Linked DNA regions of Homo sapiens: regions 1, 2, 3, 5, 6 and 7 are each linked to region 4. Evidence: promoter capture Hi-C in 16 types of primary human blood cells and fetal thymus (Javierre and others, 2016). All regions are on one chromosome and are shown on one strand. The core of a region is centred on a gene start or on the middle of the fragment in contact, and the rest is flanking DNA. Distances in the headings are between cores, read along the strand shown.

Region 1 (3,786 bases), core at 612-3,111, 1.3 Mb before region 4:
CCAAAGCTCAAAGCTAAAATGCATCATTAGTCCTCGTCGGCAGTTGAGCTGATTTGGAAAAGCTGCACCTTCCTGCAGAAGATCAACTGACCTGCTATCCCACTGCACATCTGAGGTATATTTCAGTGAAGGCAGGTAGCTGTGCTTTTCAGAGCAGAGAAGCAGTTTTAAGAGCAGAAAGGTAGAGGAAATCTAGAAAAGAACCGTCTTGATACAGATTTATCCCATGGTGTGAAGGGAGGGCAAAGAACCCAGTGGCACTTCGCTTATCCAGCAATTTCTGTCACTGTGGCGACAAACTTCTGCCCATTCCAGAGGGTCTTGAACTGCTCAGGAACTGGGAATTCATTAAAGTCACCGCCTTCTGTAGGAATGAGGACATTCATCTCAGAAGATTTGGCACTGGCTATTTCACAATCCAGGGAATTCTTGCTCAGGTAAGCATGGCAGCCATCTGTTTTGTTGATGGAAATGGTTGGCACTTTACTCATCACCTGAACTTTGACATCCCTACTGTTGATTATCTCCACAATGCCCACCATATCATCGAATACCAGACCAAGTTTCTTACAATTATCTACTGTAATGGAGTTAATTTTGCCCTTGATTTGCAACATCGTGTTGACACACTTGTATATGTAAGCCGCCTGTTTCAGCTCTGTGTCATCAATCACCAGATTGGAAACATTTTCCTGATTTTCCACTCTCCACTTCTTGCCCTCCAGTTCAAGTACAGCTGGCTCCTTCTTTGTGGCTGGTTTGGGGTTTAGGTGCAGAGAATGGCTTGGGGCCACTGCGTACTGGACCACTCTGAGCCTTCAGGGTAGGGTTCTTGTGAGTCTTCATGTCATCAGATACACGTTTCAGGGCATGTGTGATGCTCTCCCCCTGATTAATCTGCGCAAACAGTGCTGAGAGGGAAGCGGACTCATCTGAGCCTGAACTGACAGAGACTAGTGGAGGAGGGGGGCCTGGTGGTGGGGGAGGAGTAGCTGATCCAGCAGAGGGTCCAGATGGCAGTCCACTCAGTTCTTTTGTCACAGGCCCCGTTTTGCTCCAGGCAGTCCGGTGGTATGGAACTCCTTAATGTAAGCCTGCAGCTCTGTGCATATACTTAAATAAGCTTTGACTCAGTCTACATGCTTCTTATCCACATCTTTGTACTCTTTAAGGACTCAGTTTGTATAAAACACAGCAGCATGATTCATTTCTTTCACATAAGGGCCAGGATTGGGAGCCATAGCCACCCAGCCTAGGGCCTGGATACTTTCACTGACAGCTGACAGCTGATTAAACAACTTGCTGCCTCGGTTCTTCTCCCAAAAGGTTATCACTTCTTTGATCTGCTCTGAGATAGGTGCCAACAGATCGGAAAGCTTATTACCTGCCGGCTATTGACACTGAGAAGCTGTAACCAAGAGAGCTCACTCCAACTTCAAAACTGTGTGTACCATCTCCACATCTTTCTGCACGTCTTCCCCAATCTCTTTACTGATCTTCAAGTACTCTGCCACAGGGCAGGCAAGCAGCGAGTCAAATGCCTGCGCATATGGAGCTGCTCCTGCTTTTGAAGGACTATCTCCATATCCACGGTGCATGTCAGAGGTATGGGATACTGCCTCCAGGCGGCCCACTGCCCTGTCCAATTTTTTACCAGATTTTGCATGTCAGTCATAATGTATCACCTCCCGACTGCGATCAGCCGCTCTCCACTTCCCGCACCTTCACTTTTCAAAGATTCCCAGGTGATGCCAACCTGCTCTGCGGATGGAGCCCCTAAGACCCCAAGCGGCCCAGACTACGTTTCCCAGAGGCCTCCGCGGCCTCAGCCACTTCCGCTTCCGGTCCAGCCTGTCTCCGCGTGGTGCGAGCGCTGCACCAGCCCCTGGCTGGTGGTTACTGTCCGAACGGCGTGGTGTGGTCGCTGACTCTCTGGGCGTGCAGCTCCGCAGCCCTGCCGGCTCGGTTCGGTTCGTGAGCGGCCGGGGTCAGGCTGGGTCCCTGAAGCCTCGAGCCCCTGGCGGGTGCTCCCCGCCTTTCCCAGGGGCGGGTCGAGGGGCGAGCCGGGGTGGGAGGGGAAGGCGGCGGTGGGCAGTGCCCACCCGCAGTGGCTGCGCCGTGTGGAGCGACCGCTCGAGGCTGGTGCATCACAGAGCGCTCCAGCCTTGCGCCCCGGCCGACAGATTGGGCCACTGACAAGGCCGTCCCCCGGTGCTGCCAAAAGTGTTTGGCGTGGAGCTGGCTGCAGTCCAGGCCGGATCCCAGCAGCCGTTCCCTTTCCTTTCTTCCCGAGCGTACCCACCTGGACCTGTCTGCCCACCTGTGGAGGGAACGGGCGGGCGGGGACCTGGTCTAGAGGGCAGATTCTAGCTAGGCTAGGGCACGGAGGGACTTCCTCAATTTCCTCTCTTCTTTCCCAGATTGACTTACGCAGGATTCTCAGCCCTTGCCTGGGAGAACAGTTCAGGAGACAGATGGCCCCAAGAGCCCAGATCCAGGCAAGTTTGATTTTTCCATTTCTTGAGAAACCACGTGTTTCAGCGAGGTGGGGTTTATGCCTCTTGCCCGGACAATGCCCTGCCCTGTGTGTGGACAAAGCTACCCGAACCAATCCTGGATGGGTCCCGCGATTTCCGTCCTGTCTACCCATTACGTAGTCATTCACCAAGTAGATTATTGCTACCCATGTTTTCTAGAGTGCTAGAAACAGAAAAGTGCTTTGCAAACTGGCAGACGATGAAAAAAATACACGTTAGCATGTAAAGACGTAGGCCATAAAGACATAGGGTGATAGCAGTGCTCTCTTGACCTTTAGTGTGTGGTAGGGTGGGAGGGGTGGAGTAGTGGGCGCCTTAGTTCTTCCTGAAGAATAAATGAGATTTGCATAATTGCAGAGGATACTAGGGGAAAGCGCTGCCTGAATGAAGTCATTATGGCGGGACCATGAACAAACTGGTCTGAGAAAGTTGGAAACATTCATGGTCTAGAATCCCAGACTGGAGTTTGCTTTTATCCTGGAGAAAACTAGGTTTTGAAGGATTTTGAGAAGCTGATTAAATAATTGGTATTTTGAAAGGAAGTGATAAACATTTGAGTGTCTATTATACAAATAAAATTAAAAAAATTAAAGATCACCTACATTTCTACTGCTCTAAGTCAAGTAATTTCATTTGAAACACACTTTTCATTTTTTTAAGGCTTACTCATTTTTTCTTTTAGTATTTCATAGCCATTCCAATTTGTTCTAGTTTCATTACCACTTTTTGTGGCTTCCTTTTATACTGTGCCTTCAACCAGCCCTGGGACCTTGAGCAAGTTCTTCCAACTCTCTGAACCTTTGTGTCTTTAGCTACGAAATAGATTTTACTTTATATAGTTACGGCAGAAATTTAGAGAGATGATATGTATCTCAGGGTTTAGCACCGTGGCTGGTACATAGTAAGTTGTTACTCTTATGAAAAGCAATTTTTTTTTCTTTTTTAAAAATATTCTGCCCCAGAGTCAGATCATACTCCCTGTAAATTCTCGGATAAAGCTAATCACTTTCCATGTCTTTTCAAAGTTTCTATTCATTTGTTGATTGAATAAAGCTTGAACACTTCTGTGTCAGGCAGTGTTTTTGACTGGGAGGCAGCAGTGACCCACACTGTCCCCCTGGAGCTCACATTAGAGAGGATGCTGACAGTCAGTGCAAACCTCTCCTGCCAGGTGGTGAGAAATCCTGTGAAGAAAAGTGAAATGGGTTTCGAGACTGAGTGGCAGAGGATGGGGTGGAGAAATAGAAGA
Region 2 (3,482 bases), core at 931-3,430, 1.2 Mb before region 4:
GGCAGGAGAAGGGTTGTCTGGGGACTGCATTGTTCTCTGCCCATCATATTCACCACCCACCATCTTCCCTGCCCACCAAGTTCTCCATCCTTGATGCCACGTTTTCCAAGCCCACCACGCCCCCTCCTGCCCACTGTGTTCACTGCTTGCTGCCATCTTCCCTGTCTGCCCACCATGTTCTCTGCTCGCAGCCATCTTCCTCCGTCTGCCATGTTCTCTGCTCGCAGCCATCTTCCTCCGTCTGCCATGTTCCTCTGCCTGCTCTGTCTCCCCATCTCCATGCTGCCCGCCACGTCTCTGCACAGGCCCTGGCCCTTATAGAGGGTCTTCCTCAGCCTTGCACTTCGCTTCCTGCTACCTCCCAGCACCGTCTCAGGCCACCAGTTGTTAACATTTGGCAAACACCCTTTCATGTAAATTAAATCCTACTCACACATACATTTCGACTGATGGAAATATCTGTCTATGATCTGGATTTACGACAACCTCTGGATTTACAATAACCACTGGTTTTCACACTACTCCTAATTCAAGGGGATAAACCCTGCCAAATGTGGTGAACAGAAAGGGAGGTAAAAGGAGTTGAAGGTCTCCCAAGAAAACGCAGTCTCTTCCACAGTTTGGTGTAAGTGCCGTGACCTCTGCTATCCTGTGTGTTGTATTTGTCCTTTGACTAATGAGGTTTCTGGGGCTTGGCTTTAAGGATCCTTTCTATAGTTGGAATTATTATTTTTATTTTTTATTTTTATTTTTAAAAAAGTATTGATGACTTTGTGGTTCCAAATGACTTTTTCCTGGTACATCAAAATATGATCTTTTTAGTTACTGTTTTTGTTTAAAGCCATAGTAACATAATTGAATTACAGTTGGGAGTAGCCATTTTGCAGAACTTTTAAAAATATCGAGCCAAATCTGTTTGCCATAGCACTTTATAACACTAGGATTAAATACTCTTTGACAAATGTTTTAATTGCTGACAAGTGCAACTTAGGGAGGCGGTTTTGAGGAGTTTTGGCTGGTGTCCCGGTGCCTGCTGTCAAGTGCTGGCATGGCCCAAGGAGCTCTGGTAACCAGGAGGCGGGGAAACCAGAGCATGCTGACTTGGCATGGCCCAAGGAGCTCTGGTAACCAGGAGGCGGGGAAACCAGAGCATGCTGACTTGGCCCGGACTTCTCCTAGGTTCGGAGTCTTTCTGTGCCTTTCTCCTCATGCCTGTTTGGGACATGACAGGACTCACCATGGCTCCACTCCCCAGAGTTCTGCTGGGATGAATGGAGTCAACCGGGTGAGCCCTGGATGAAGGGTGAGGCTCATGGTAGGGATTCCTTCCTCACTTCCACCTATGGTTTGAATGTCCCTCCAAAGTGCATGCTGAAATTTAATTGCCATTTTAACAATATGAAGAGGCAGGACCTTTAGGAAGGTCTGCCCTCATGAATGGATTGACGCTATTATCTTGGGAGTGGGTTCGTTATCACAGGCGTGGGTTCCTTACTAAAGGGTGTTTGCCCTGCCTTTTCTGCCTTCCCCTACCCTCTCTCATCCTCTCCTGCCCTCTTACCTTCCACCATGGGATGACTCAGCAAGAATGAGTCACCAGATGCTGGAGCCTTAATTTGCACTTAGCCCCCAGACTGTGAGAGAAATTTCTCTCCTTTATAAACTACCCAGTCTCGGGTATTTTGTTATAGCAGCACACAATGGACTGAGGCACTTCTTCAACACATCATGTCCCTAGCACAGACTGCTCAGACTTCTATTCAGAATTACTTCTGTGCTCATGTATTCAGTACAGAAGAAGTTGTTACTTGACTCAAAGTTATTTTATTTTTAAAATTAACATGCAGTAAGTGTGACCTTTTGGGAATGGGCTGTTCCACCACAATCAGGACACAGAATTGTTCCATCTCCCCCAAAGCTTCCTGATGCTGTTCCTTTATAGTCACACTGTCCCTTCCTTCACCCCCAGCCCCTGGTACCCACTCCATGACTATAGTTTTGTCTGCTTTGAGAATGTCATATAAATGGAATCATAGAGTATGTAACTTCTGAGACTGGCTTCTGTTACTCAGTGTAATGCCTTTGAGATTCAGCCAGCTTGTTGCATGGATCGGTAATTTGTCTTTTTACTGCTCGGTAGTAGTCTGTTGTATAGAGCTCTGATGGATAGGCCTGGCTGAGCCATCCCCCATGTCTTCCAAGTCACTAGATGTGTCAGTGAGGTCAGCTTGGTCCCTCCAGAAGAGCCTGCTTGCCAGCTGAATACCACCAAGTGATCTCTGCAGTGCCATGTGGGACAGAGAAGTCACCCAGCCAAACCTTGCCCAATTTCCCCAGCCACAAAAAAATGAGACATAAAGAAGCAGTGGCTGTTTTTACCCACTAAGTTTGGATTTGTCTGTTCCATGATTGTGGATAACCAGAACACACCCCAATGGGTACTTAAGCTTCACAGGAATAAGGATCACATCTCTTGACAACCTAAAACTTTGGATCCAGTGGTGCTCAATAAGCATTTTTATTTTTAAAAACCAATTTCCTCTCTGTGCTTGGCAAGACACTTTATAAATGTGTGATAGTGATGAGGACGTGGAATTATCTCGATAATTTCCTTGATGATAAGAAAATTATCCACTAGCTATCAAATACTGTTAAGTATGTTAGTCGTGGACTCCCTCATGAGTTGTGGGGACAATCACTGGAGCCCTTTGGGGCCCTGGGAAGAGGAAGGAGCACAGCAGATGCTTCAGGCAGAGCGCCAGCCTTGTTATTGGCTTGGCTTCCTCCTCCATCCCTGCAGGTCCTGTCGCCTGTAGTTTTCCAGGAATGGGTGTTTTGGGGCCTTGATTCTTCCTCAATGAAGCCCATCCTTCCTGGTCCTCCACCATGGTCCTCTCAACCATTGCAGGTGTCTCCCTCACAGTGCAGGGAGTGACAGCACGGACGCTGCAGCCAAGCAGGCTGACATTTGAATTCTACTTTTATCACTTACTGGATATGTAAACCTTGAAAAGTTTCCTAAATCCCCAGAACTTCAAATTTCCCATCTATAGGATGTGCATAAAAACACATACCTCAGAGGATTGTTTCGAGGATTAGGTGTAGTGATACATGTGGAGCCTCTAGCCTGGGCTGCAGGCGAGGGCACAAGAACTCTCTGTCTCTGTGGAGCAGGGTCGTGGCACCTGGCAGCATGGGCTATGAGGAAGGAAGGAGCCCAGTGGGTTCAAGGACTGGACGAAGGGCCAAGTGGTTGGAGCGCTGAGCCTGAGGGCCGAGGGACATAAAATGAGGTTTGGGAAACTCATAGGGACTTAATCAGGTGGGGTCTTGCAGCTGCATTGAGGATGCCAACTTTTTATTCTGGGAGCAATAGTCAGCCAGGGCTGTGGCTAGTTTTGTTCTTTGAAAATTTAGACTGCAGGGTTAGAGGTGTGCAGATTAAAGGTGTGCAACAGAGGATTCACAGCAGCTCAGGCAAG
Region 3 (3,345 bases), core at 107-2,606, 1.5 Mb before region 4:
GGCCAGACATAGTGTCTCACACCTGTAATCCCAGCATTTTGGGAGGCCGAGGCAGTGGATCGCCTGAGGTCAGGAGCTCGAGACCAGCCTGCTCAACATAGCGAAATCCCATCTCTACTAAAAATACAAAAATTAGCTGGGCACAGTGGTGTGTGCCGGTAATCCCAGCTACTCGGGAGGCTGAGACAGAATTGCTTGAACCTGGGAGGTGGAGGTTGTGGTGTGCCAAGATCGAGCCACTGCACTCCAGCTTGGGCGACAGAGCGAAATTCCAGCTCAAAAATAAATATATAAATAAACAAACAAACCAACTAAACCATCATTGCCCTCCCCAGCCCTCCCAGCCCAGAGACCCCCATCCCTTGTCAGCCATCCCCCCTTACCTTCTGGACAGGGACAAGTGTCCCTCATTTGGAAAAGAATTAAGGAGGGGTAACAGCAGACTAGGGAGGCCTGGGGTCCTCCACACGCCTGTGTGGGGTGACTTTGGCCCCCAGCAACAAGGCAGGCCTGAGGTCTGCAGAGGGAGGCAGCCCACTCCTCAGCCGGGGGCGTCTATCCTCCTCCTGGCCCCATCCCTCACCTGTGGGGGAGGCTAAGTGGGTGTCAGGGCCCTGTCAGAGGGTGAGCCACCCCCGGGGGTGCCCATCGGCCACCAGCCTCCCTTCAGTAGACACCCAGCCCAAGTGACAGCAGTGGCATGGCACTGCTGAGCACAGGGAGCCTCAAGGTCAGTGCCTGGCTCCTGGTATCCTCCGTGGTCCCCAGGACACCCCCACACAGAGGTCCCAGAACCCCCAAAGCTGGCACAAGAGCCCAGGAACACCCTGCCCAGCACCCTCCAGGTCCCTCTTTTAGGATCTGGGTGAGCTAAAGAAGCCAAAAGAAAGGCTGGGCGCGGTGGCTCACGCTTGTAATCCTAGCACTTTGGGAGGCCGAGGTGGGCGGATTGCCTGAGCTCAGGAGTTGGAGACCAGCCTGGGCAACACATTGAAACCCCATCTCTACTAAAATACAAAAAAAATTAGCCAGGTGTGGTGGCGTGCACCTGTAGTCCCAGCTACTCGGGAGCCTGAGGCAGGGGAATTGCTTGAACCCAGGAGGCAGAGGTTGCAGTGAGCTGAGATTGCATCACTGCACTCCAGCCCGGGTGACAGAGTGAGACTCCATCTCAAAAAAAGAAAAAAAAAAAAAAAAAAAAAAAAAAAAGAAGCCAAAAGAGGGTCTTCGGCCCAGCCCGCCCCTCCCCAACAGCCCTGGGTGTGGCAGGGAGCCTGACCAGTTCCCTCCAGCCTGCGTCATGGAGCCCTGGGCGTGGCTGCAGGGTTTAAAGAGCCGACCCACGTGCCCAGCAGCCTCCTCAGATCCGTTCTCTGCGCTGCCAGCTCAGGTGAGCCCTCGCCAAGGTGACCTCGCAGGTGAGCAGGCGTCCACTTTGGGGCTGCTGGGTGAAGGGGGTGGGTGCCCAAGAATTCTGAGTAATGAGGAGCCTGTTGAGGGGTCTGAGGACAGATATGGCTGCAGCAGCCGCTTGAAGGCCTCCTGCTTTGCACCCACTATCATATGGATGGTGGGTTGGGGGTTGGAGGAAACAGAAGCCAGCCCTTGGCTAAAGAATATATGAGCTGGTGGGGTATACCTCTGGTCCCAACTGCTTGAGATACTCAGGTGAGGAGATCACCTGAGCCAAGAGAGTTCAAGGCTGCAGTGAGCCGAGATCACGCCACTGCTCTCCATCCTGGGTAACAGAGCAAGACCCTGTCTCAAAAAAAAAAAAAATAGTAATAATAATAATAATAAAATAAAAAATGTGACCTAGAGTTGAGACCCTCGTATTCCAGGAACTCCAGGTTGGTGAAGGTAGAGAGACCAGTGAAGGCTGGGGGAAGCCAGCTTTGGAGACTGCTCCTAGCCCAAGAACCGATGTTCAGAAGCAGTGCCTAACAGTCTCTCCCTCCAGTGCCTCCCTCCCACTGCAGAAGGACCATGTGTTTATTTATGGATGTATTTATTTATTTATTTTGAGATGGAGTCTCCCTCTGTTGCCCAGGCTGGAGTGCAGTGCCAGGATCTCGGCTCACTGCAACCTCCACCTTCCAGGTTTAAGTGATTCTCCTGCCTCAGCTTCCCAAGTAGCTGGGAATACAGGCGCCTGTCACCACACTCAGCTAATTTTTGTATTTTTAGTATAGATGGGGTTTTGCCATGTTGGCCAGGCTGATCTTGAACTCCTGACCTCAGGTGATCCACCCGCCTCAGCCTCCCAAAGTGCTGGGATTATAGGTGTGAGCCACTGCGCCCGGCCTATGGATGTATTTATTGTAACAGGTTTTTAGTGCTTACTGTGTGCTAGGCATAGTTCTTAGGCTTGACAAATAGTAGTTCACGTAATTCCATCGCTATAACCTTATGAGGTTGCTACTATTCTGATGATCCTCCTTTTACAGGACACTGGTGAAGGAGCAGTGAGGAACCTGCAGAGTCACACAGTTGGTAAGTTGCTAAGAAGGGACCCAGCCCAGACAGCTGGCCCTGGATCTGTGATCTCATCAGGAGGCCAGAGCTGGGTACAGCAGATGATGACAATGGCTTCAGTATTGAAAACTTGACCACACTAGGCTAACAATATGCAGAGGGCTGGGAGGGGGCCTGCGCTCAAAGACTCAGCCTCCCTAAGGACAAGTAAATGGGGTCCTGGCTACTTCCAACCTGAGGGGGAAATGTCATACCACAGGAGGTCTATACTCTGAGAGCAGAATCTGGGTCTGCTGGAGTAGGGTCCCCTGCCAGGGCTGGCAGGGGAGGTCCTGGCTGCTGCAGTCATCTCATCCCAGGACTCAGCACTCCCTCCCTCCTCCACACCCTTGCTTTTGTGGAGGCTCTCTGGGAATTCAGACTGAGGGTGCTGGACTCTGGCCACCCCAGGCCCAGACCTTTGGGAACAATAGCCTGGGGCCTGATAACAATGCCCTTTGTGTGGGGTTAGGAAGGCAGGCTCCAGACCCTGACTTAGAATAGCAGCCACCTGACCCTGGGCATCTGATTACACCTCTCTAAGCTCCATTTTTTTTTTTCTTCTCTGAAATAGAGACAATAATAGTATCTTCCTCATGGGGAGGAGTAGGGGGTGGGTTTGTCGCATGGATTTTAACAACGCCTTCTACAGCACTTACTCTGTGCAGGCACAGTTTTGAGCTCTTAGCTTGTGCTTACTCAATCCACACAACTCCCCCAGGCCACCACCATCTCTAGATGGGAAGACAGAAAGTAGTTACTTTCCCAAGATCTCCCCACAAGCAAGTGTATCCTTGGGGTTTGTACACCTACTTTCACCATGGGGCTCTG
Region 4 (3,495 bases), core at 986-3,485:
GCTGGTCCTCTCCCTCTTGTTAAAAGCAAGAGAGGCTTTCCCAGAAGCTCCTCAGCACACACCCTGTCTGGGCTATTTGACCAGAACTGGGTCACACCCTCTCATTCCTAAAGTAGTCTCTGGGAAAGGGAGACAGTAGACTAACCTGTGGACTGAACAGTCCCTGCCAAGCCAGGCCCGGAAGGAATTCGTATCTTCTGAGCAGGTGACCATCAGATACAAAAAAAAATAAGTGGCTGTTGGCCAGCAAGAAGCAAGTGAGCACTGTGGGCCAGCCAGAGCTTCCCGACCCATGCAAATCAAGGGTTCCTAAAGGACAGGGAGCTGCCATCGCTGCTGAAGCCCAGCCCCCGCAGCTCCATCTGTGCAATTCAGCATATGCCACAGAGACCGGAACACCTGCATTTGGGGGAGTGGGTGTGTGTGGTGTCAAGATATGTCAAAGTTTAAGAAGATTGAAGTTGATAGTCTGCTAATAGAAAACAACTAACCCAGGAAATAAATATGTAAATCATACACTCATAAACTTGATCTTGAAGATCACACGAGCACAGAAGTTCCTAAACTCATTCAAGGCGGAAAAATACAAAAAACGGTAATCTTTATGGAATGCCATGATTCTTGATCAAATTAATCAATCAAATTAAAATAATTTTAATAGCAAAAAATATCTATTCATTATATATGTTGAGGGTGTATCATCCTCAAGCAAGAAACATGCAAGCCAGGCATGGTGCACACCTGTGGTCCCGGCTACTCAGGAGGCTGAGGTGGAAGGATCGCCTGAGCCTGGGAGGTTGAGGCCACAAAGATTGTGCCACTGCACTCCATCCTGGGCAACAGACAAGACCTTGTCTCAAAAAAAAAAAAAAAAAGAAAAGAGGAAAGAAAGGAAGGGGAAGGGGAAGGAGAAGGGGAGGGAGGGGAGGGGAAGGGAGGGGAGGGAAGGGCCAAACTAATTGTTCTTGAGTTTTCCGTTATTATTGGCAGACCTTGGCTTTCCATGGTTCAACTTAGGATGGTGTGAAAATGATGTACATTCAGTAGAAATTGTACTTTAAATTTTGGATTTTGATGTTTTCCTGGGCTAGCAACATGCCCTACAATATATTCTTACATGAGCTACTCCACACTTTATAACATAAACCTTGTGTTAGATGATTTTGCCCAACCATAAACTAAGTGTTCTGAGCACATTTAAGTAGGCCAGGCTAAGCTCTGATGTTCAGTAGGTTGGTTGGATTAAGTGCATTTTTAACTTAAAATATTTTCAATGTCTGATGGGTTTTTTGGGACATAACCCCATCATAAGTTGAGGAGCATGTGTATTGGGTTTGCTTGGAGTTTTTTTCCTTATTTGGTTGTTTTGTTTTCTATCTTATATGAGCAAAGGGGTAAAAGATTTCAGAAAAACACCTGAGAGATAAATCTTAATACCATTCAATCTAGCACATCCGTTAGTAAATTAAGAATGAGGGAAAGCCCACCACTGTCCAAGTGTAAAGGCTGGGCTCCTTGAAACAGCTACAGGGACACTCCAAGTACATCAAAAACACCAATTCAGCCAAAACTTCACATTTATTTTCTGCAAAAGTTACCAAGGCTCACAGATGCCTTTGGGTTTCCCCAAGGTCACCCGGTTAATTATTGACATAGCAACTCCCCTCGCAAAACAAAGAATCAAAATGATTTCCCACGTCCCATGTTGGGATGCATGTTAATGAGGAAGGAAGGCCTCTGCGTGGCGGGGCCTGAGCTAAGTATGTCTAGTCAGAGTCCAAATCCGGGACAGATTTGAAAAGCTTTCTAATCCACCTATACGCAGAAGAATAAAGCTTGGAACTCATTTCAAAAGTTGTTTCTACTGGTGATTTAAAGACACACTCCTCTCTCCCATATGCACATAAGCACAGACCTGCAAGAGCACTGTCCCCTCCAGAGCCAGACACTACAGGCCCCCAGCAAGTGTGAAATCCAGGTGTGACTTTCTAGGCATGGCTTGGTGAGGAAGGGCCTGGCCCACTCCTTGGCTCCCTCCTCCCAGCCAGAAACGGTTAATTGCCAGCTCCAGACTGCCTCCAGCCCAGCCCTAATCGCCGATCTCAGGCGGCTGGGCTGCGCTGGGGCTGAGCGGCTCCAGCCCAGGCTGGGGTTGTGTGAGCAGCAGGAGCATTCTTCCAAGGTAATGATTAAGCTGAGTGCCTGGCAAGGGCACGGGCTGAGAGCACAGAAGGTGAGCCCTATTCACACCTCGGCCAGGCTGCGGTGGCCAGGACTGGTTTGGGAAGGCAGGGCCCCGGTGTGCAGCCACAGCCAGCAGCCTCCTACCTACACAAGGGTGTTCGGGAGCATCTCAGGGCCGAAGACTTTGCTGCCTGCCCTGCCAGGACTTTGTCCTCACCCCTGGCACCATGCAGCTCCAGGTGTTCTGGACTGGGCTGGAATACACCTGCCGGCTCCTGGGCATCACCACTGCTGCAGGTAAGACCCTGCCTCCTGGCTGCTGATCCTTGCACACTGGCACCACAGATAGGGCTGCCTGAGGGGTGGGAGGTGGCCAGGAGACAGCAGGCACATCTGGCCACTTCTGTGCTTCAATTTTTTTCCCAAGACCCCTAGAAACACTGCTCTGTAGAGCAGCAGCAAGTGCAGTGGGGTGAGCCTAGGGCTGGGGACCAGAGGGCTGGGTGCTGGATCTTTGCTTGGCAAGTCACCCTCCCTGTGACCTTGGGAAGCCTCAAGATCCTCATCTGCAAAATGATTCCAGGGGCCACCCCACCTACGCAGAGAGTTGTCATGAGATGGAGGTGGAGACAGAAGGTGAAGATAGAAAGGGCTGGGCTTCGCTGTGTATCTACAAAAGGTCAACTGAGCTCATCCTGCTTTACTCAAACCATAGCCCTACCTCATGGAGAGAGAACTCCCAGTCATGAGCAGCTCTGCCCTGGAGGGACAGGCTGAGCCTGGCTGGACGTGGAGATCACAGGCTTCCCTCGGGCCCATGCTGGACCCTGTTAACAGAACACCCTGTAGGAACCCAGACCCCTGTCTGAGGTCTGACTGCAGGAATGCACTGTGGTCTTAGCAGCAGAGATGCTTCCCAGAGATGCTGGGCTCCTTCCTTCACCCAGCAGAATCACAGGGCTGCTCAACTGGACAGGAGGGCAGACTGTTAGAGCAGAGCCCAGAGCCACCATCCTGAGCCCTGCCTGCTCGCTTCCCCAGGGCAGGCCTGACCCTTAGCCCCATTCCCCCTACAGAGCCAGGATCTGTTTTGGGGAAATGAACAGGCAGAATTCTGAGCCCTTAACTCTGAGCCACATTGTCCCTTGGGGACAAAGAGAGACACACCCCCTATCAAAGCCCTTCCCCACCACTGGGCAAAAGCTTACCCACGGGTCTTACCAAATGGGAAAGTTCTCCTAGGTCAAAATCACATAGTGCTTGTTCCTGCCCCAGCCTAGTCACTTGCGTGATATATGACCTTGGGGAGCC
Region 5 (3,551 bases), core at 267-2,766, 1.2 Mb before region 4:
TGGTGTCTGTGCCTTCAGAGGCTTCTGACGTCCCCCACTCCCTGTGACCTGTTACAGCCCAATCCCTGCCCTAGATCCATCCCAGCCTGGGTCTAGATCAGTTTCCAGTCCCAAATATCTCAGCCAAAACTCACGACTCATTTGTCTATTCTTACTGAGAATCTGTTAGTGCCAGCTTCTGGGCTCCATGTTATGGGGATTCAAGGAGAAGGACACTAGCGGTGACCTGAGGCTATTGTAGCCCTGAGTAATCTCTCTTCCAACTTGTTCTTAAAATACACATCAAAGTACAGAAAACAGCCAAAAAGCAACACAAAAACTGCACAGGAACAGTGTCAACAATTGTTAGCCTTGGGAGGGATTTCCATTATCTTCAAAAATAATGAGACACTCTCGGGCACATTTGAGGACATTTTCATTGTTAGTGGCTCAGTTGGCCAGAGGCATGTAGGTGAGAAGGGGCCTGGTGGCCCAGTGGCCATCACTGAACCTGGCAGAGCCCTGAGAGCACCTTACCCTCCCCTGGGGCAGGGACTGCTGCTCATCTGTCCTGAGCCTGGGCCTTGCCTCTCCTCCTCCCTGCTGGTTTGCAATGTTGGGGAGGTAAGGGGGAGGACATGTCCCACTGAGTCCTGAACCATGTGGTCCCCGAAGGTACAATGCTGCTGGCCGGGCGGAGGGAGGACTGGCATGGCTTTTTCTTCCGTGTAGCCTATTTGGTGGAACAAAATAAGCCCCTTCCTGTATTCACAAGGGCATACATTGACCCTAAGTGGGTCAGAGAACCTGCCTTCCTCAGCCCAGCCAACCACACCCAATGAGTGCCTGTCTCCAAAGCACTGACATCGGGACTGGGGGTGAACCCACTGTGCCTTCCAGCTTTAGCTCTTCAAGGGGTGTTCAGCCAGGGGACCCAGGGTGGCAAGAGGGTGAAAGTGTGCTGTGTGTCTCTGTAACAAGGTTTTTATGGAGCACGGACCAATGGAACCAATGAACATCTTCTGAACCGAATACACTGACTATAGTTGAAAATACAGTGTTTGAAAAAAATATTTTTAGGAAGAAATAAAAAAGAATTTAAAGATCCATATTTCAAATTCTCAGTGAGCAATGGGGATATAAGATTATTAGAGGAGCTCAGATAATGCAGAGGCTGAGGCACAAGCCCAAGTGAAAAGCACCCCAGACAGGAGGAAAAGCTTCAAAGGTGCCCACCTGCAACAGCAGAGCCCAGCGCTCCACAGTGGCCATAAAGGAAAGAACTGAAGCCCTAGAAACACATTCCAGTCAGTAGAGCAAATTCGAATTGCTCTCATAGAATCCACAGGAAAAGGACAAAGGGATGAAAGCAATGAAAAAATACAGCCATCAAGGAGGCTAGTAAAAGGAGAAGCAGTCTTCGAATAACATGGCCTATCATGAGGAAGAACGAGAAATAACTGCAAAGAAGCAATAATGAAGGATAGAACATTTGAAAACTTTCTTGAGCTGGGAGAAAAGAGTGCTTGGTCTAGAGACTGACTTACATAACGATGTATAAGGCAAATTTTCTAAAAAACAAAGCTATATCCATTACTTTATCAGTGATTAAAAATAGGTAATTTAATTGACAAATTAAAAACAGGTATAGAAACATTCAATCTGAGAGCACATGCTGCTCAGAAATGAATAAATTGCTTGTCAGGAGGATGTCAGACCCGTTCCCAGCAGCAAGTTGCAGAAGACAGTAGGGCAATGTCTCCATTTTCAGAGAAATCATTTTCTTATCCCCAATTTGACTTTGTATATTAAGACAGCAAATCCCTTCTTACGTGCAAGGGCTCTGGAATTATGCTAAGCTTTATGGTGTTATAACTGAGAGAATAATCAACCACAGGAACTCAGGAATGGGAAGGTCAGTTCACAAAAGTCTACCTTGTTGTCAGTTTGGGTGAAAGAGCCAGAAAGCAGCATGAAGACTGAAGATACATAATGAACAAAAACTGTAGCTTGGTAACCATGACATGGCTCTTTAATTTCTGATGAGTGAGAAATGTCTCTAAGCCAGGCAAGGTTCAGAAGCCAAGGATGAAGACAAAGAGAGCTCCTGGTTTTCTAGAGTTGCACTTCCTAAATAGTATGCTAGAGAACAATGATTTTTTATTTTTTATTTTTAGACAGAGTCTCACTCTGTCGTTTAGGCTAGAGTGCAGTGGTGTGATCTCGGCTCCCTGCAACCTCTGCCTCCCGGGTTCAAATGAGTCTCCTGCCTCAGTCTCCCAAGTAGCTGGGATTACAAGCATGTGCTACTATGCCTGGCTAATTTTCGTATTTTTAGTAGAGATGGGGGTTTCACCATGTTGGCCAAGCTGGTCTCAGACTCCTGGCCTCAAGTGATCCACCCTCCTCGGCCTCCCAAATTGCTGGGATTACAGGCATGAGCCACCGCGCCTGGCTGAAAACAAAGAAATCAGTGAGATGATTTCAGACAACAGTAAAGTTACAAAAAAAAAATAGCACAAGGTGCTGATAGGGAGGATGGAGAGAGCGGAGGCTGCTCACAGTGGTCAGGGGATGCCCAGGAGGTGACAGCAGTCGCAGTGTGAGGCTGCCACTCACCCTCAGGGAGGGGTTTCCAGGCAGCAGGGGTGAGGGCAAAGGCCCTGATTGAAAGGAAGCTGATGTGGGGCCAGAAGGCATATATGTGGGCAGAGAGGCAGGCAAAGGCTGACCAGAGAGCCCTGGCCACCATGGTGGGCACATGGATTTTGTCCTTAGGGCCACAGGACACCGTTGAAGGGTACGAGTGGAAAAGTGACCCTCTGAGGCTGCGTGTGGGGCAGGCTGTAAGGGCTGGCACGTGCCGGGGCCCAGGGCAGGGGGCTGTGGGCTGATGTGGGCTGTGCTCATGGCCTGAGGGAGGAATTCAGGAAGATTCTGAGCCTTTTGGCCTGAACAACATGTTCTGAGATTGGCGAGTGGGAGATAAAGAGGTTTGGGAGGAGTGAGGGGAATTAGCTGTGGGATTTGAGGAGGGCCCAGGCCTGAGCCCTGTGTTGATCCAGTATTCAGAGAAGGGAGAGGAGTGGGGCCCAGCGAAGTAGGCGGGGAAGGGGCCAGCAGTTTGTAAGGAGAGATGGGGATGACATAGAATATATATATATATATATGTATTTTTTTTTTCTTTGAAATGAGACCTATCGCCCAGGCTGGAGTGCAGTGGCGTGATCTTGGCTCACTGCAGCCTCCACCTCCCGGATTCAAACGATTCTCCTGCCTCAGCCTCCCAAGTAGCTGGGATTACAGGCATCTGCCACCACGCCCAGGTAATTTTTCTATTTTTAGTAAAGGCAGGGTTTCACCATGTTGGCCAGGCTGCTCTTGAACCCCCAACCTCAGATGATCCGCCCGCCTCGGCCTCCCAAAGTGCTGGGATTATAAGCATGAGCCACTGCGCCCAGCCCAGAATATTTGTTTTTCAGTTAGAAATGTATTTGGCTTCTAGTAATGGAGACCAAACATAACAATGATTAGAATCAGATAGACATGTTCTGGCCTCTATTAGTGAAAAG
Region 6 (3,431 bases), core at 566-3,065, 1.3 Mb before region 4:
TTATTGGCTTTAGTTCACTAGAGGAAGTGAGATGCAAAGACAGGAGTTGATAATCAGAAAATGAGATGATTAAAATTGAGACCATTGTTGGATTAATAATGCAGAAGTTACAAATATGATCATGGATGGAGGTGAGTGGCTCTGGTCTTCTGGAGAGGAAGTTCATTGGAAGTAAGGAGGAAAAGTGATGAGTCATTTATAAGCACTCCAAGTGTGATGACAGTAGAGCTGGAGTGAGTGATAATGATACAGGAACTAAAATCTTCAAGGGGTGACCCAGGTGATAGATGATTGCTGCAAAGAGGAATAATGTGTACAATGGCTTTAAGGCAAGAGACTCAACGTTGGAGTTAAGAGGGAGGGAGAGAGTATTGCCTTGAAGCAAGCAGAGACAGGGTCACAACAGGCTATAGTCAGGATTATATGAGATGTTTGTATAGGCAAAACCCCAAGAAACTTCCTGAAAGGTTACGGTAATAGTAAAACAAGTTTTTCCATCACATCTGTAGCTTGTGTTGAATGAGATGTATTGATTACAGTCGCCATCTCGGACTATGGCAAAGCTAGGGAGGTTAGTGGCCTGAAAACATAAAAGGAGTATAATCAGTAAAATCAAGAAAAACTAGGCAGGCTGGCCAGAATTACTGGGAAGAGATAGAAATTAGAAAACAAGCAGAATTGTAGAGTGATTTGCATTCTTTAATCAAAGGAATGAGGCTCTCTAAGAGTAAGGTGAGATTCAGCACTGCAGAAACACAAGTCTTGGTCATGGCTGGATTGTACATTCTGTTGTCACTAAGTCCCTGACCCTATGGCAACGACATCATAATGACCCCAAATGCAAGTAAAGTAAACAAAATCAGGGCAGGGCTACAGGTGATCTGGTGAACTGGACTTGGTGGATGGTGTGGAAGGGACTTTGGGAGAGACCTGTGCCCATGATAAAAGGGAAGATGAAGATGTTCCTTTGAGTTTGCATGTGTGGGGCCTTTTTGGCATGGTTGACTTGTCTGTACTCCTTCCTGTGACTTGACATCAAAATTAGGTAAGAAATCATGTATTTATTCATCCTTGTTGACTTTTCTAGTTTTCTGTGGCATTGATTCTTGAATGGAAGCCCTAGCAATGAGGAACTTGGCGTGGAAAAGGAGGACAGACATGCACTGTCTCAACCCCCTGTGTAAGGAGTAGGGTAATCCAGGCCACCTGCTGCTTGGAATTTTCTTCCTGCTCTTTTATTGCCCTGAAGGGAGTTTTGGGTCTGCCTAGAGAGTCTGGTAGGGTTGAGAGTCAAACTGTGCAGCTGGTAAGAAGAATGGGCTGTAGGCTTGTTAAAACACAGTGTGCTGTCTCTCCCTCCCTTTTCCGCAATCTCCGCAGTTTCGGGGTCAGTAGGTCTGGGATAGGCCCTGAGGATTTGCATTTCCTATAAGTTCCCAGGTGATGCTGATGTCCTCAGGAACCACTAGGTTGGATTTATATGTATTTCTGCAGAAGAATGTTTTTGATACCGTGGAGGATACACCCCAAGTGTTATGGGTTCAATTCTGTCCTCCAAAAAGATATGTTGAAGTCCTAACTGCCAGTACCTCAGACCATGTCCTGCTTGGAAATAGGATCTTTGCAGATGTAATTAGTTAGGATGACATCATAGTGGCATAGGGTGGGCCTTTAATCCAATGTGACTGGTGTCCATATAAGAGGTGGAGAAATGTAGAGACACAGACACATGGGAGAAGGCCATGTGATGGCACAGGCGGAAAGTGAAGTCCTGCAGCTGCAAGCCAAGAGCGCCAAGGGTTGACAGCAAACCACCAGAGCTAGGGACAGGCAAGGAGGGGCTCTCGCTACAGTTTCAGAGGGAGCACGGCCTCGATTTTGGACTTCTAGCCTCCAGAACTGCCAGATAATAAATTTCTGTTATTTAAGCCACCTGGTTTGTTGTACTTTATTATAGAATCCTTAGAAAAGTAACACACTAAAGTTACCTTCAATGGGTCACGCCCTTGTGTAACCTCTCCCTTTGTGGGAATAACCAGAGACTTGCCTCTGATAGAATATGGCAGAGGTGATGGGATGCCACTCCTATGGTGGTTATGTTATATAAGACTCTGGAGACTCTCAGCAGACTTGGAAGATAAGCAGACTCTTAGCAGACTTGGAAGATAAATTCTCTTCTGTTGGACTTGAAGAGGCAAACTGCCATGTGGTGGCAGAGAAGTTTAAGTGGCCTGCAGGACCTCAGGGCAAACTTCAGCTAATAGTAAGAAGCTGGGACCCTTAGTACTACAGCCATCGGGAAATGCATTGTGCCACCATCTGAATGGGCTAAGGAGGGATCTTCTCTAGTTAAGACCAGATGGACACGGCTTGGCTGGCAACCTGATTTCAGGCTGGTGAGACCCTGAGCAGAGTTCCCAGCTTGGCCCCTCCTTAACTTCAGAACCACGCAAAATTGTGAGATAATGTATTTGTGTTTTTCAACCTGCTAAGTTTGCAGTAATATGTTACTAGAATGTAAAGATAGATACGTTTATTAATGAAAAAAGAAAAACTAAACTTCCAAACGATGTGTATAGAGTGGTCCTTTTTTGTTTAAAAAGAATGAAATAAGAAAATATGTTCAAATTCCATGGTTTGTGTAAGTATATATATCAAATAGTATATAGAAATACACACGACCAGTATACTGTGGTGTGTGTGTGTGTGTGTGTGTGTGTGTGTGTAACTTTGGAGTGATGTTATTTGGAATGATGTAACACTTGGGATTTTGGAGTAGGGAGATTATTGGCTTTTTTAAGTATAACTTTTTCTTTGGAAGTGGTAAGGAGCATGTTTAGCTTTAATGGGAAAATCAGATAAAGTTTATTAAAGAGAAAATTAATGTATGTTGTTGGTCATTTTTGGTTATAAAAATAATGTATGTTTATTATAGAAAAACACAGAAACAAGAAAATAAAAGTTTATTATGGCCCTTTTGGCCAGAACCACCGTCTTCCAGTAATTCGACAAAATGACAAACACAAAGGGAAAGAGGAGAGGCTCCTGGTAGATGTCTTCTAGGCCTTTTAGGAAGCATGGAGTTGTTCCCTTTGGTCACGTATATGTGAATCTATAAGAAAGATGATATTGTAGACATTAAAGGAGTGGGCACTGTTCAAGAAGGAATGCCCCACAAGTGTTATCATGGCAGAACTGGAAGAGTCTACAGTGTTACGCAGCAGGCCGTCGGCATTGTTGTAAACACACAAGTTAAGGGCAAGTTCTTGCCAAGAGAATTCATGTGGGTATTGAGCACTTTAAGCGCTCTGAGAGCTGAGCTAGCTTCCTGAAACTTGTGAAGGAAAATGATCAGAAAAAGAAGGAAGCCAAAGAGAAAGGTACCTGGATTCAGCAGAAGTGCCAGTCTGCTCTGCCCAGAGAAGCGCACT
Region 7 (3,398 bases), core at 427-2,926, 1.3 Mb before region 4:
CCAAAAATCATTAAAGACTTACACTTCCATAAAGGGCAAACCAAGTTTTGTGTGTTCATTACCAGTATATTTATTTATTATTATTTTTAGATGGAGTCTTGCTCTGTCACCCAGGCTGGAGTGCAATAGCGCAATCTTGGCTCACTGTAACCTCTGCCTCCTGGGTTCAAATGTTTCTCCTGCCTCAGCCTCCTAAGTAGCTGGGATTACAGGCACCCACCACCACGCCCAGCTAATTTTTGTATTTTTGTTTTTTAAAGTGGAGATGGGATTTCACCATGTTGGCCAGGCTGGTCTCCAACTCCTGACCTCAGGTGATCTGCCCACCTTGGCCTCCCAAAGTGCTTGGATTACAGGCATGAGCCCCTGAGCCCAGCCTAGATATATTTTAAATGAGACTGATACTGTTTTAGGATAATAACTCTAGGATCAAAACTGGGCTGATTTCTTGGCTGACCTTAGTAAAAGATGGAAGCAAACAAGAATGTGGCTCCCTTATCCCAAGACAGTAAATAGATAAGGAAGATGAAAAGCTGGGCCTGCTCTGCAGGTGTCCATGGTAGGCACTGCCAATGGGGCGGGGGCTCCCTCACCTCCCACGATTTCCCTACACGGGTCCTTCCAGCTTTCCTGTTAATCATTTAGTAGATCTGCCACCTCCTTCTTCTCTCTCCATCACTCCGCACCATCTGTGTGAACTTTTTCTGGATTTCTGGATGGGCTTCTAAATGTTGACTTGTCTAAAATATACAAGTATTGTGTATATTAGGCACCCAATAAATTCCAAACCATAACGAATACACAAAATCCCCTAAAGACCGGCTTGCGGCCGGGCGCGGTGGCTCACGCCTGTAATCCCAGCACTTCGGGAGGCTGATGTGGGTGGATCACTTGAGGTCAGGAGATCTAGACTAGCCTGGTCAACATGGTGAAACCCCGTCTCTACTAAAAATACAAAACTTAGCTGGGCGTGGTGGTGCATTCCTGTAATCCCAGCTACTCAGGAGGCTGAGGCACGAGAATTGCTTGAACCTGGGAGGCGGAGCTACAGTGAGCCAAGATCGTGCCACTGCACTTCGCCTGGGCAACAGAGTGAGAACCTGTCTCAAAAATACCAAACCATAGTGATGGTTTGGTATTATATTTATATTTGAGCACCACTATGCTCAAATATAAATATAATTTAAAAAATGGGCTTGGAAACAGTCCACGTCTGTCGCTCTTGGTCACAGATGTGTGTATGTAGCCATTGCTGCATAGAATCTATAATTTCATCCTTTGTAGTAGGCATTGTTCTTCCCTCCATGGTTTGGAGAGGTTACCACACATATCCAAGATCTCACAACCAGTGAGCAGTCGATGTGGGATTCTACCCAGGTCTGACTCAAGTACCTTGTTCCTTCCAACTCACCAGGCTTTCATGACGGGATATGCATTGGGCAGCAGCAGAATAACCAGAAAGCCTTTGCCAAATAGGATCACAGGCACTGACACCAATATTAATATTAAAAGGGCATGGTTTAGTCAACTGCAATTGGCAAAATATGTATAAACAGCATTTAACAAAAATTATTATCAATATTAAGGATAATGTCTTTGAAACTTTATGAATTTTGTTACTTTTTGACATAAAGACATAAGATGTAGAGTTAGGAGCAATTTGACAAAATATGTTAGACAATTTGACTCACCATTATTAAAGTCAAGCTGGCAAAGGTAAGTAGAAATTACAAAAATACAAAACAGAATTCATCGATAGATTCTGACTTTGGAGCCTTTCTTTGAGACAGGGTCTCACTCTGTTGCCCAGGCTGGGGTGCAGTGGAGATCATAGCTCACTGCAGCCTCAACTTCCTGGGCTCAAGCCACCCTCCCACCTCAGCTTCCTGAGTAGCTGGGACTATAGGCACATACCACCACACCATCTAATTTGTAAATTTTTTTGTAGAGACAGGATCTCACTATGTTGCTCAGGCTGATCTCAAACTCCTGGGCTCAAGAGATCCTCCCACTGCAGCCTTCCAAAGTGTTGGGATTACAGGCGTGAGCCATCAGGTCCTGCCTGGGGACTTTCTGGTGTCTAAAATGTTTACAAAATATGGTAAATCATTATGACATAAAAAGGATCAAAGCATTAGAAAATACAAAGAAAATCAGCCAGGCGCAGTGGCTCATACCTGTAATCCCAGAACTTTGGGAGGGTGAGGTGAGCAGATCTCTTGAGGTCAGGAGTTCAAGACCAGCCTGGCCAACATGGTGGAACCCCGTCTCTACTAAAAATATGAAAATTAGCCTGGCATGGTGGTGCTCAAATATAATTAATTATAACTCAAGTATTTTGGGAGAAATACTTTTATGAAGTCAAATTTATCATTTTTTAATGATTTAATGTTTCTGTGTCCTAAGAACCCTTTGCCTACTCTAATTTTTTTTTTTTTAAGAATCTCCTGTGTTATCCTCTAGATGCTTTATGGTTCTAGCTTTTATTTTTAGGTCTATAACCCATTTTAATTTTTGTGTATGTAGTGACGTAGAGGTCAAAGTTCATTTTTTCCATGTGAATAATCAGTGCTTGAGCACCATTTGTTAAGGAAGACTTTTTTGGGAAAGAAAGCAAAGGCCCTCTCTCCCGAGGGCTTCTGGACTGAATGCTAACAGCAGTCTGGGCTAGCTAAAATTATAAAAGACAACGCAACCAAATATAGGCAAGAATATATAGCACTGAACTCTCAAATATTGCTGAAAGGAGTATAAAATGGCTGGAGAACTTTAGAGACCTTTTGTTAATTTCTTATAAGTTTCAAGATACATCTACCCTATGGTTCAGAAATTTCACTCCTAGGTATTTGCCAACAGGAATAAAACACGTCTACAAAAAGACTTGCACAAGAATGTAGCCTTATTCGAATAACCCAAAAGGGAAAACAACCAAATGTCCATCAATAGTAGAATGGATATACAAACTGTGGCACATTAATACTATGGAATAGTAGTCAGCAAACAACAAAAGGATGCTCACCTGACTCGCACAATATACATTGATCTCAAAAAAACATTATGTGGATTGAACGAAAGCAAGACACAAATACAGACAATATGATCCCATTTATATGAAGCTCAGGAAGAGAAAAATTAATCTATGATGACAGAAATCAGAACACCAGAGCATAGTTTCTCTGGGATGGAAGAAGGTGGGAGGACTAGTTGGAAAGAACTTGAAACACTTGGGGTAATGGACATGCACCATCTCTTGTTTACAGTGATTGCACAGGAGTAATATAATTACCAAAGCATATTGAAATGAATGTTTTGCATTTTTTTGTGTGTCTAAATTACATCTCCACTAAAAATTACCACCAAAGAAGTTGTATCAGTGAAAGTAGATTAGATTATACTGC

The links. Contacts are between HindIII fragments. The CHiCAGO score rates a contact against its expected background, and 5 or more counts as called.
Region 1: a contact is called between the fragment with the promoter of ZNF485 here and the fragment with the promoter of TMEM72 in region 4, in 9 of 17 cell types (M0 macrophages, erythroblasts, total B cells and 6 more). The highest score is 12.0, in M0 macrophages.
Region 2: a fragment that was not itself captured here is called in contact with the fragment with the promoter of TMEM72 in region 4 in 16 of 17 cell types (total B cells, M1 macrophages, M0 macrophages and 13 more); the score reaches 18.9 in total B cells.
Region 3: a contact is called between the fragment with the promoter of FXYD4 here and the fragment with the promoter of TMEM72 in region 4, in 1 of 17 cell types (M0 macrophages). The highest score is 7.4, in M0 macrophages.
Region 5: a fragment that was not itself captured here is called in contact with the fragment with the promoter of TMEM72 in region 4 in 11 of 17 cell types (naive B cells, total B cells, activated CD4 T cells and 8 more); the score reaches 13.3 in naive B cells.
Region 6: a fragment that was not itself captured here is called in contact with the fragment with the promoter of TMEM72 in region 4 in 6 of 17 cell types (total B cells, total CD4 T cells, M2 macrophages and 3 more); the score reaches 7.8 in total B cells.
Region 7: a fragment that was not itself captured here is called in contact with the fragment with the promoter of TMEM72 in region 4 in 16 of 17 cell types (M2 macrophages, total B cells, non-activated CD4 T cells and 13 more); the score reaches 15.2 in M2 macrophages.

Annotation. Positions count from the first base shown.
Region 1 is chr10:43,604,577-43,608,362 of GRCh38, forward strand. It overlaps ZNF485 (zinc finger protein 485), which reads left to right and starts at 1,862. Exons shown (of 5, transcript NM_145312.4): 1 at 1,862-1,970; 2 at 2,421-2,498. The coding sequence starts at 2,475. It also overlaps the pseudogene CAP1P2. RefSeq lists an enhancer at 1,568-1,617 and a silencer at 1,898-2,177. The HindIII fragment of the contact is 2,214 bases long and covers 1,375-3,588 here.
Region 2 is chr10:43,678,649-43,682,130 of GRCh38, forward strand. No RefSeq gene overlaps it. Among named protein-coding and RNA genes, the nearest start is that of ZNF32, 32 kb to the left of the region's middle. The HindIII fragment of the contact is 529 bases long and covers 1,917-2,445 here.
Region 3 is chr10:43,370,280-43,373,624 of GRCh38, forward strand. FXYD4 (FXYD domain containing ion transport regulator 4) reads left to right here and starts at 1,357. Exons shown (of 9, transcript NM_173160.3): 1 at 1,357-1,418; 2 at 2,448-2,493; 3 at 3,236-3,345. The HindIII fragment of the contact is 9,288 bases long and covers 1-3,345 here.
Region 4 is chr10:44,909,102-44,912,596 of GRCh38, forward strand. It overlaps TMEM72 (transmembrane protein 72), which reads left to right and starts at 2,236. Exons shown (of 5, transcript NM_001123376.3): 1 at 2,236-2,481. The coding sequence starts at 2,412. The region is part of intron 2 of TMEM72-AS1 (TMEM72 antisense RNA 1); the gene reads right to left. RefSeq lists an enhancer at 1-338. The HindIII fragment of the contact is 1,552 bases long and covers 1,834-3,385 here.
Region 5 is chr10:43,703,632-43,707,182 of GRCh38, forward strand. No RefSeq gene overlaps it. Among named protein-coding and RNA genes, the nearest start is that of ZNF32, 57 kb to the left of the region's middle. The HindIII fragment of the contact is 639 bases long and covers 1,198-1,836 here.
Region 6 is chr10:43,627,934-43,631,364 of GRCh38, forward strand. It overlaps ZNF32-AS3 (ZNF32 antisense RNA 3), which reads left to right and starts at 884. Exons shown (of 5, transcript NR_038867.1): 1 at 884-1,045. It overlaps LOC124902416 (a long non-coding RNA gene), which reads right to left. Exons shown (of 2, transcript XR_007062132.1): 1 at 3,385-3,431; 2 at 2,849-3,112. It also overlaps the pseudogene RPL21P88. The HindIII fragment of the contact is 5,917 bases long and covers 1-3,431 here.
Region 7 is chr10:43,659,072-43,662,469 of GRCh38, forward strand. All of the region lies in intron 1 of ZNF32-AS3 (ZNF32 antisense RNA 3), which reads left to right. Among named protein-coding and RNA genes, the nearest start is that of ZNF32, 12 kb to the left of the region's middle. The HindIII fragment of the contact is 3,787 bases long and covers 1-3,398 here.